3 separate regions of the Homo sapiens genome follow, and regions 2 and 3 are each linked to region 1. The links are contacts of gene promoters, found by promoter capture Hi-C in blood cells and fetal thymus (Javierre and others, 2016). All regions are on one chromosome and are shown on one strand. Each heading gives the region's core, a stretch centred on a gene start or on the middle of the fragment in contact. The rest is flanking DNA. Distances are from core to core; before and after follow the strand shown.

Region 1 (3,427 bases), core at 324-2,823:
GAGCCACTGCATCTGGCCTGCAAATATTTTCATATGAATCATGAAATTATAAGAAATTCTTTAAAAAGCAAAACTTATTAAAACTAAAAATACAAATAGCAATTCCTCAGGATCATCAGATATTATTTAATGTGTGTGTGTGTGTGTGTTTGTGGCGTGTGCGTGTTCGTATATTCAAATTAGTGTTCAATTAAGGTCCTAGAAATGGGGCCACTCCTGGTGGCTTCACACCTGTAATCCCGCACTTTGGGAGGCCGAGGTGGGAGGATTGCTGGAGCCCAGGATTTAGACACTAGCCTGGGCAAGATGGCTAGGTGTTAGCCATCTTGCGGAGATGGTATATCTCCACAAAAAATGCAAAAAATGTGTCGGATGTGGTGGAGCATGCCTGTAGTTCCAGCTACCTGGGAGGTTAAGGTGGGAGGATCACTTGAGCCCAAGGTTGCAGTGAGCCATGATCACACCACTGCACTCCAGCCTGTGTCACAGTGAGACCACGTCTCAAAAAAAAAGAGGTACCACATTCTAGACTTCTAGACTACTTGTCTTTCCCTGAATATGCAGTTAGTTTGCCAGTTTGTCTTCATATCACGAAGTTACTTAGTTACCTTTTTCAGATTTTTCTTTCCCTTATAACTCAGTTATAGTTCAAGGAAGCAAAATTAGATTGTTTCCGTTGGACAATGAATCTTAAGCAAGTTTCTCTTGCAGATTTTACCACACTATGTAGTTATGTATCTACTGGTCATTTATTCTGTAGTTTCGATTCCTCGATGGTCTGCTTAAATCAATTTTGTGCCCCAGGGCCTTGATAACATGTTTAAATTAGTTATTAATTACAAAGACCTATTATGATACAATTCTTTCCCCAATTAAAAACAAAACTAGGCCGGGCGTGGTAGCTCACGCCTGTAATCCCAGCACTTCATCCTGGCCAACATGGTGAAATCCCGTCTCTACTAAAAATAAAAAAATTAACTGGGCGTGGTGGCGGGCGCCTGTAGTCCCAGCTACTCAGGAGGCAGAGCCAGGAGAATCGCTTGAACCTGGGAGGCGGAGGTTGCGGTGAGCCGAGATCGCGCTGCTGCACTCCAACCTAGCGACAGAGCGAGACTCCGTCTCAAAACAAACAAAAACTAGCAGGCTTTTGTGACTACAAACAAGCTGGTTGCATGCTGCACTGCCTTTGGGTAAGAGTGGAACTCCAACTAAGAAAGTACATCTGGTAAACATAAGGGATTCACCCAGACTTGTCCTAAATAAGACTCCGATTACCCGAACTGAATCAGGAGTCCTTTAGAGCGACTCTAGCTAAGAAGGCCTGTTAGGCCCTGCACTAAGAGTTTCAGGTGGGAAAATTGCGCCATCCAGTTATAGGCCGTACAGCGGGAACTCCATGAACAACCTGGGTAACCTAATCCCTGAATAAGACTCCTTCCAGGTACCAGTGGGCTGAGGGCGGCAGGGCGACGCGCTGACGTCACGTCACGTTCCTTTGCACGTCCCCGCCTCCCCGCCCCTCTCCGCACTGTGACGTTCCCAGAGAGGAACGAAGCGTAAACAGCGCAGGGCATTTCGGGAGCGGGATTGTTTCGCGCAGGAAGCAGGCTCCATTTTAGCGCCGCCCGCCGTCGCCATCTGTTTCCCTTCCCTCCCCCATACCTAGCCCGAGTCTGAGCCCTAACGAGAAGGCTGGGCCTAGGCCGCTGGATGCTGGAGTGAAAGGAAGGGAGAAAGGGAAAAAGCGGGAAGAGTCGAGAAGGCTGAGTGTTAAGAGGCCAAGTGCGACGCGCGTATCCGGGCAGACGGACTGACGGACGGGCCCGTGCTTCTGCCGCGGCTGCGGCGCCCGCGCGAGTCGCGTCTAAGCGGCGGCGGCGGTGGCAGCGGCGGAAACCGAAGGGGAGCCATGGCGGCTGACAGTCGGGAGGAGAAAGGTTAGTGCGGAGAAAGATGACGGGCCGAGGCGAGGCTGGGGCCCGGGAGTGGGGTGATGGAGCAGTGGTCGTCGTTGGGGGTGGGGGGTGGGGGTTGGGGAGGTTAGCTGGCCTCGCGAGGAGCCGGTGGCCCCCACCGAGACACTTAGACTCTGGCGGAGACCAGGCCTGCCCTTTCGTCCTCAGTCTCCATATGGCCTAGCACTTCATCTCAGTAGGGTTTTTCTTTGATGCGGATTTCACGCTTGACTTTCCGTTTAGCTGTCTTGGGCTGAGAGGGGCCCTTTCTGAGTTGCAAGCTCCTAGGTTTATTTCCTGGTAGGATCATGCGGATGTAACGCGTATTTTCAGGACAACCATTTCTGTTAGGCTAAAATTTGAAAACCCCTAATGCCGCGATCAACACTGGTGGTGTGGTAAGTGAGCAAGTTTAGGAAGTGGCACTGGCAGGTTATTAATCTTGAGAAATATCTGCAAATAACTTCTGGCTGTTCCTGTTAAATAGGCAAAGTGAATTACCCGTTTTGTTCCTCGAATACTTATTTTGGAAAAACATAGTACTTGGAAAAAGGAATACTTAGTTTGGAAAGATGACTGTGTGACTTAGGCTGGCAAAGAAATCCTGGGTGCTATTATGTTAGAAAAACCGTGTGTAGCTCCCAGAGGGTACAGTCAGAAACAAATGAATGCAAGTTACAGAGAGTTGGAGGGATAAATTTCAGTGAAATGTAGAGAGAACTGACGTTGCTGTAATGGAAAGATAGTAATACTAAGTTCCCAAGCCCTAGAGATATTAATGTAGGTCCTAGATCAGTGTCTCTCTGGAGAGTGGTCTAGATTAAATGCTGCTTTAAGATCTTTTTCAACCCTAAGATTAACATAATAGTCTTGGAAAGATTATAGTTAAAAATATGACACGGTCGCTGCTCTGTGTCTCACACATCTCTTCTGTGTGCCTAATTGATTTGGGGTTTTTTTGTCGGGGGTTGTTAAGTGGGCTCTAGAGTCAAGTTACATTAGGCGTGTAATCCTTTTTTCTTAATTTTTCTGGTTTCTGCATCAGGAGAGTCTTCATGCTTCAATGAACTGCCCTAGGTTAGGGACAAGCTGGGAAAGTGGAATGGGTGGGAATACTTTTAAGATACTGCCCTTATCCTAAAGTAGTTCTTTGATTAGGTTATAGCAGTTTAATGTTCCATCCTTAAACTAAATGCTAAAAAATCTCCCTGGGCCTTTTTTTTTTTTTTTTTTGAGAAATCCAGAAGTAATGGGAACATAGGATTGTATGGTGTTAGTGAGTAAAGGAAAATGCTTTTAATTAGTTAACTCAGTTATTAAAATACATGATCTTAATTAGTAAGTATTCAGCAAACATCTGATTGTCTTTCTAATTTATGAACTGTGGATATGGGAGTCTGTAGTGGTTGTGGTGGGCGAAATGAACCAAACACAAAAATGAGTAAAATTCAGTACTTCTCAAGAATTCGTTG
Region 2 (3,254 bases), core at 752-3,251, 1.4 Mb before region 1:
GATTACCTCTCAAACATGTCATGGAAATAATTAAGTAATGGTGCCTAAACTGACAATGTGAAATTTACAAGTTCTATTCTCTCTTAGAGACCTCATATGGCAAGGACACTGCCTACGAACTTATGAAAATTAGATTTATGAGTGCTTTTTCTCTATAAACTATGTCATAATTGGTGCTTGTTTATAGTCTTAAATAATGATGGCAATACCATAGTTCAAACTCATCTAGGTTAATTTGAGTTTCAAGTGTTGATTTTAAAACTTACTCATTAGAAAGGAATGTCTCTGGTAAAATGCATAGAGTCCCAACAAATGATTAATAAGATAATGCAGCCTATTCATAAGAAGGGCACTAAATGTACCCTGTCCTGTTCTCTTCTATTGAGAGAAAGAGAACAAGATGTCACAAATCTTATGAAAAAGCTTCTCCTGTAACTTCGAATATGGGAAAAAAGGAGAGGGAACAAACTATTTTCTCACAACTTGCATCCTCTATATCCCCTCCCTCCCTTCCTCTAGAACTATTGGCAAGAGTATCAACATTGTTGTGCATAGTAGAAGTTTTTGTAAAAGAAAGATTCTTGTAGCTCTCTCTAGAGATTCTGATTAAGAAAGCCTGGAGTGGGACTCTAATTTACACATTCTATAAAACACCAGAGGTGACTCAATAGCCATATTATATATTGCAATTTCCAAGTGACGAAGATGAACTACTCATTTTGCAAGTAATAGATAGATAGACAGATTTAACAGCTACAAAGTAGCTCCTTTTGTACGAATGAAATTCATATTTAGAAATGCAGAAAAATAAAATAATGAAAACTTAAAACTTAAAGCCAATGGCTAAATATAATTTGAAGGGAAAGAGGAAGTTAAGTGAATCACATAACTTAAAACTGGCCTTTAGCCAAATATGCAGTGTGTTTTAAAATAAATGGGTAACTTTCCTAGTACAGTTTGCTTAGTGTGTAAACTATTCATTCGCTTAAACAATGAGTGTAAATTGGGTTTCATTGAGAACATTTTTTTCTTATTCCCTGGGTAATTATTTCTTCCATTTTTTGAAAGCTAAGTTTCTGAATAGATTAGTACATGATAAAACTATACTCTCTCATTGTTTTGCCTGAGTTGTTCTTACTGTCGTATTTTGGGGTCTTGAGCTTGAACCACACTGGGCCTCTGCAACAAAGCCAAAATGCAAGGGAAGCAAACCAGAAAGGGATAGCAACATACAATAAAAATAAATAGATATAAAGTCTATTCAAAGCAGCCTAGTGGTCAAGGCACATTTTAGGGGTACCAAAATTTCATCTCAATATCTGAATTTTTCATGGTCATTGAAGTTTTACCATTTTTTTAAGTATAGCATACAGATAGAAAACTCCAAAAATCATAGATATACAGAGAAACCTTCCAAATAAACACACCTGTGTAACCAGATTTCATGTCTCTGGTTAATTTGGTTAATGTTTAAGAATTAGAACATTACCAGCATACTGGAGCCTCACTCTTCCAGTCAATGTTACTCCCAATGGAAACCACAAGTCTGATTTCTAACACCATGGATTACTTTTGCCTTTTATTTTGAAAGTTATATTAATGGAATGGTATAGATGGACTCTGTGGACTTTGTGACTTTTTTCACTCAACATTGTATTTTACTGATTTATCCATGTTGTTGCATGTAGTTGTAGTTTTTATTTTTATTATTATATAGCATTCCATTATGAGACTATACCAATGTTTATTTGCTTTTGATAAGCATTTCAAAATTTTCAGTTTGGTTTACTACAAATAGTACTACAGTGAACATGTTATTTACATTTTTGGTATATATATTTTATGTGCATTTTCCTTGAGTGTAGCCTAGGTATTGATTTACTAAATAACGTGATGTGCATACGTTTAAGATATACCACCATATACTTTTCCAACCTGGTTATATTGATTTACAATTACACCAGCTGTACAAAAGCATTCCAGTCCCAGATTTTATACTCATCACCTATTATTTTATGTAATTTTCATTTTAGCCATCTTGGTAAATGTTTATTATGTTCTGGTTATAATTGATATTTCACTGCTGATAAATTTTGAGTAAGTTTTCACATTAATTCATCATATTGATTATTCATTATACCTCTTTTGTGAAGTACCCATTCAACTCTTTTGTCTATTTTTTATGTGTTGCCCTATTTTTTCACTGATTTGAAGAATATGAATATCTATGAGTGTGCATGTGCATATGTTTGCTTACACATATGTACATATTTTTATGTAGGTGTGTATATATATACACCTTAAGATTTTTTGTATCTTTGCTCTTTTCAAAATCTTTCTTATTTTCATATTGTCTATAGAAATATTAGTGATATCCCTATTTCATCCTCAATATTGATGAGTATTCTCTCTCTCTTTTTTAATATGTCTTGCCATGTGGTCGTCAATTTTCTTACTCTTAAGAAACACAAAACTGTTGGCTTTTTTGATATTACATCTGCTATTTCATCTGCTTATTCTATGACTTGAGTTTTTAGTCACTTAACAGTGTCTTTTGGTATTATTAGTCTTAATATTGTTCAATTTATAATTTTTTCTGCAGAGTAAGCATTTTGTATCCCACATAAGAAATATTTGTTTGCAACGAGGTAATAAAGATGCTCTTTTTTTCTACAGGATTTATTGTTTGTCTTTCACATGTAAATCTAAAATATATCTGGAATGAATATTTATATGGTAGGACTCCAGTGGTTTTCCCCACCTAGAGATATCCAGTTGACTTAGCACAATTTACTAAAAAGGCCATTCATTCCTCACTTTACTGCAGTCACATTTGTATTACATCAGTTGTCCTTATAAATGTGGGTCTGTATCTGGACTATTTTATTCCACTGGTCTTTTATAAATGTTTACATGAACACCATATTGCTTTAATTAATATAGCTTAACAATGTAACTGAATGACTGATAGTAGAACTCAATTTCATTTTTCCTCAAGAATGCCTGGTCAAGTATTGGCCTTTTGTTTTTCCATATACATTTTAGAAGAATCTTGACAATTTCCCTTAAAAAAAAACCTGCTATGATCTGTATTAGGATTGCATTTAATCTATTGATCAATTAGTCAAGTAATTACATGATTACAAAAAACTATGCTTTTATTTGGGAATTATTTGCTTACCTCTAATAATTTGTTATTTCAATGTAGAAGTCGTATACTTTTGTTAGATTCAGTTCTCCACATTTGACCTATC
Region 3 (3,357 bases), core at 618-3,117, 1.5 Mb before region 1:
AAACAGGAAAAGCCTGCTGGACTATTATAATTACCCAGATGAGAAACACTCTCTGGCTGGCAGTAGCAGAAGTGTTTAAGAGGCAGTAGATATAAAGAAAGCCTGAATATAATGAATTAGATGTTGTGGTTAAGAGAATAACGTCCAAGCTTATGTGTAGATACCTGGTGTTGACTCTACACAGGTCATTAAAATGTAAATGGAGAAAACACAATATGCTAAGGAATAAAATGAATTTATTTTTGAACTAATTGTATTTGGAAAATTTGGACATTTTTCAGGTGGCAAAATCATGTAGGCAGTTGTATATAAAGCATAAGTCTGGATTTTAGTGCTATCAGCATTAAGATGATATTTAACACCTTGAGAGTGGGTAAAACATGGATCTTATCCTGGGAGCCCCAACAGCTGAGATGAAACTTCAGAAGAAAAATAAAGTAAATGGCATAAGAAGAAAGAATCAGAGAATTAAATTTGTTGTTTTTTTAAACCAATTAGGACAAATCCATCTTTGTAAGCCCAAAAAAGTATATCATTAAAGGTATACATTTGATTCTTAAAATTGAGAATTACAAGTATAATATTTGATTAGGTGTTAATGAAAGTGATGAAATTAGCAAACCTAATGATTCTTTTTGGAAGACTTAATATTTATTGAGCTTTCTTTTTTGTTACAGGAATTACAGGAGACTGGAAAAATCACTTTACAGTAGCCCTGAATGAAAAATTTGATAAACATTATGAGCAGCAAATGAAGGAATCTACACTGAAGTTTCGAACTGAGATCTAAGAAGGTCTTTCTTTACTTAACATATCTGATATTAAAGATTTCTTTTCATTATTCTCCACTTTTTCTTATTTTAGATTGCTAGAAAAGACATAATCATGGATTATGTTGACATTTTCTTTTTAAATTTTTGTTTAACTTTTTTTTTTTTTTTTTGAGACAGAGTCTCACTCTGTTGCCTAGGCTGGAGGACAGTGGCACAATCATGGCTGATTGCAGCCTTGACCTCCTTGACTCAATTGATCCTCCCATCTCAGCCTCCCAAGTAGCTAGGACTACAGACATGTGCAACCATGTTTGGCTAATTTTTTTAATGTTTTTTTGTAGAGATGAGGTCTTATTATATTGTCCAGGCTGGTCTTGAATTCCTGGGCTCAAGCTTCCCAAGTAGCTGCAACAACAGGCACACACCACCATGCTCAACTAATTTTATTTCTATTTTTTGTATAGACAGGGGCTTGCTATAGTGTCCAGGCTGGTCTGAAACCCTTGAGCTCAAGTGATCTTCCCACACCAGCCTCCCAAAATACTGGGATTACAGGCTTGAGCCTCCATGCCTGGCCCAGGTAACATGTTTATTGAGCTGTACATGCATATGAGAAATAAGAAACTTTTTTTTCCTACTATCATCTCTTAAATTTTGTTTTCTTTTTCTTTTGCTTCCTCTTCTTCTTTTCTATTTTTTATAAATATCATGCACAACTATAACCTATGGGAATGATGTAGTAACACAGATTATTCATCTTGTTAGAGTTGTATTAAAAATAAACAAGCATTTCAAATTATTTTTGTGATTGATTTTCCATTTAGTAGGACATTAGTATATAATAAAAATGGTGCATGAACTTTGAAGACTCTGGAAGAAAGAATGAAATAATATATAAATAGGGGGCATAACTATAGCTATGATTTCCCTCCTTATTTTCTTTTATTTTCTTTTTTTTTGAGACGGAGTCTCACTCTGTCTCCCAGGCTGCAGTGCAGTGGCGTGATCTCTGCTCATGCTCACTGCAAGCTCCACCTCCTGGGTTCCCGCCATTCTCCTGCCTCAGCCTTCCAAGTAGCTGGGACTACAGGCGGCCGCCACCACGCCCGGCTAATTTTTTGTATTTTTAGTAGAGACGGGGTTTCACAGTGTTAGCCAGGATGGTCTCGATCTCCTGACCTCGTGATCCACCCGCCTCAGCCTCCCAAAGTGCTGGGATTACAGGCGTGAGCCACCGCGCCTGGCCCATTTTCTTTTACTTTCAACAAAATGAGTTAATTTTAAATTTACCTTAGTCTAACTCCAATTTTTCAACATAACACAACAGATTTCCAAACATCCAAAAATAATTCCAATGAGTGTGATTTATCTTCAGCTAGTTTGAAATATTTATGCTTTAGGGTTCCTTCTGTCCTATATGCAATCCAACAAATGTAAATATTGTAAAATAAGTTTTAAAGAATAAGATATTTGGCAGTAAAATATAACAAAAACAGAAGAAAAAAGAATTAAAATTTTTTATTGTTTTTTATTTAAAACATCTTCTATTTTTAAAATTGTATTCTTTTTCTGTACTATGTTTAGTCAATGCTTCCTTTCACTAACACAGAGGAGACACAAGATCATTACATATTTACTTAGGGTCTTCAGTAGAATGCTTATCTAGACTACAATAGACTAAAAGGCCAAATCTGGGGAGAAATCCAGATGATTTATTTTCTTACTTTTTGGAGAAAAGTCCATGGATTTCTGAGCACCCTATTCAATAGTTATAGTTTTTAAGAATCAAAGCTTTTTTTTAATGTTTAATATAGTTATTAATTATACAAAAATTGGAGAGTCTTGGAAAATATTAAGATATTGTTGAGGACAGTGTTTACCGGGGGAATCAGAATCAATCCCTGAAAACAATTGTTTTACATTTTTTATGTGCCCATTTAGTCATAATTTTTAAAATTTCACATTATAATGTCCAATAACTTTTTTAGAATGCATTTTGTAAGATTCATAGTGATGTTGCCCACATTATAATTGACGTAAGTAAGCAATAATAAACCTACGTATATTTCTGACATCAGTCCTTGGTGGAACAACACATTCCAGTTTAGCCTGAATAAAATTTGGACCAACTATATCTTTCCAAAGCTTGCCAAGAAACTTCTGTATCTTCTTTGGAGAAGTAATACGGCTGGGATCTAGCTTCAATTTCACGTAGAAACTTCAACACCTTTAGATTATTGGCATCTTCCTGGAGCTGGGCTTACAGTCCATATGGACTGGAGACAATGAAAACCTTGGACGGCATCATGTGGTAAAATACATAGGGGTGGCCAATGTAGCTTTGGTTCTGTGCTTCCAAGAAAGCTACAGAATTTTTTTACCTCATTGCTTAATATTTCCTAATAATTATATCTCTAGAACAATGCCTTCAGGCCCAGATAAATTCACAGAAATACTTTTTAAAGGTTTATGGACTGACTGATTAATACCATGTGTTATCATTTGAATGTGTTCCCCAAAAGTTTATGTATTGAAAACTCAATTAATCTGCCCTCATAAATGGATTAATTGATTAATGAGAGCT

The links. Contacts are between HindIII fragments. The CHiCAGO score rates a contact against its expected background, and 5 or more counts as called.
Region 2: a fragment that was not itself captured here is called in contact with the fragment with the promoter of YTHDC1 in region 1 in 1 of 17 cell types (naive CD8 T cells); the score reaches 5.4 in naive CD8 T cells.
Region 3: a fragment that was not itself captured here is called in contact with the fragment with the promoter of YTHDC1 in region 1 in 1 of 17 cell types (non-activated CD4 T cells); the score reaches 6.1 in non-activated CD4 T cells.

The regions. Positions count from the first base shown.
Region 1 is chr4:68,348,236-68,351,662 of GRCh38, reverse strand. YTHDC1 (YTH N6-methyladenosine RNA binding protein C1) reads left to right here and starts at 1,573. Exons shown (of 17, transcript NM_001031732.4): 1 at 1,573-1,937. The coding sequence starts at 1,910. RefSeq lists an enhancer at 1,625-2,204. The HindIII fragment of the contact is 7,711 bases long and covers 1-3,427 here.
Region 2 is chr4:69,716,204-69,719,457 of GRCh38, reverse strand. No RefSeq gene overlaps it. Among named protein-coding and RNA genes, the nearest start is that of SULT1B1, 43 kb to the left of the region's middle. The HindIII fragment of the contact is 3,151 bases long and covers 426-3,254 here.
Region 3 is chr4:69,839,427-69,842,783 of GRCh38, reverse strand. SULT1E1 (sulfotransferase family 1E member 1) reads left to right here. Exons shown (of 8, transcript NM_005420.3): 8 at 678-1,572. The coding sequence ends at 790. Among named protein-coding and RNA genes, the nearest start is that of SULT1E1, 19 kb to the left of the region's middle. The HindIII fragment of the contact is 1,398 bases long and covers 1,169-2,566 here.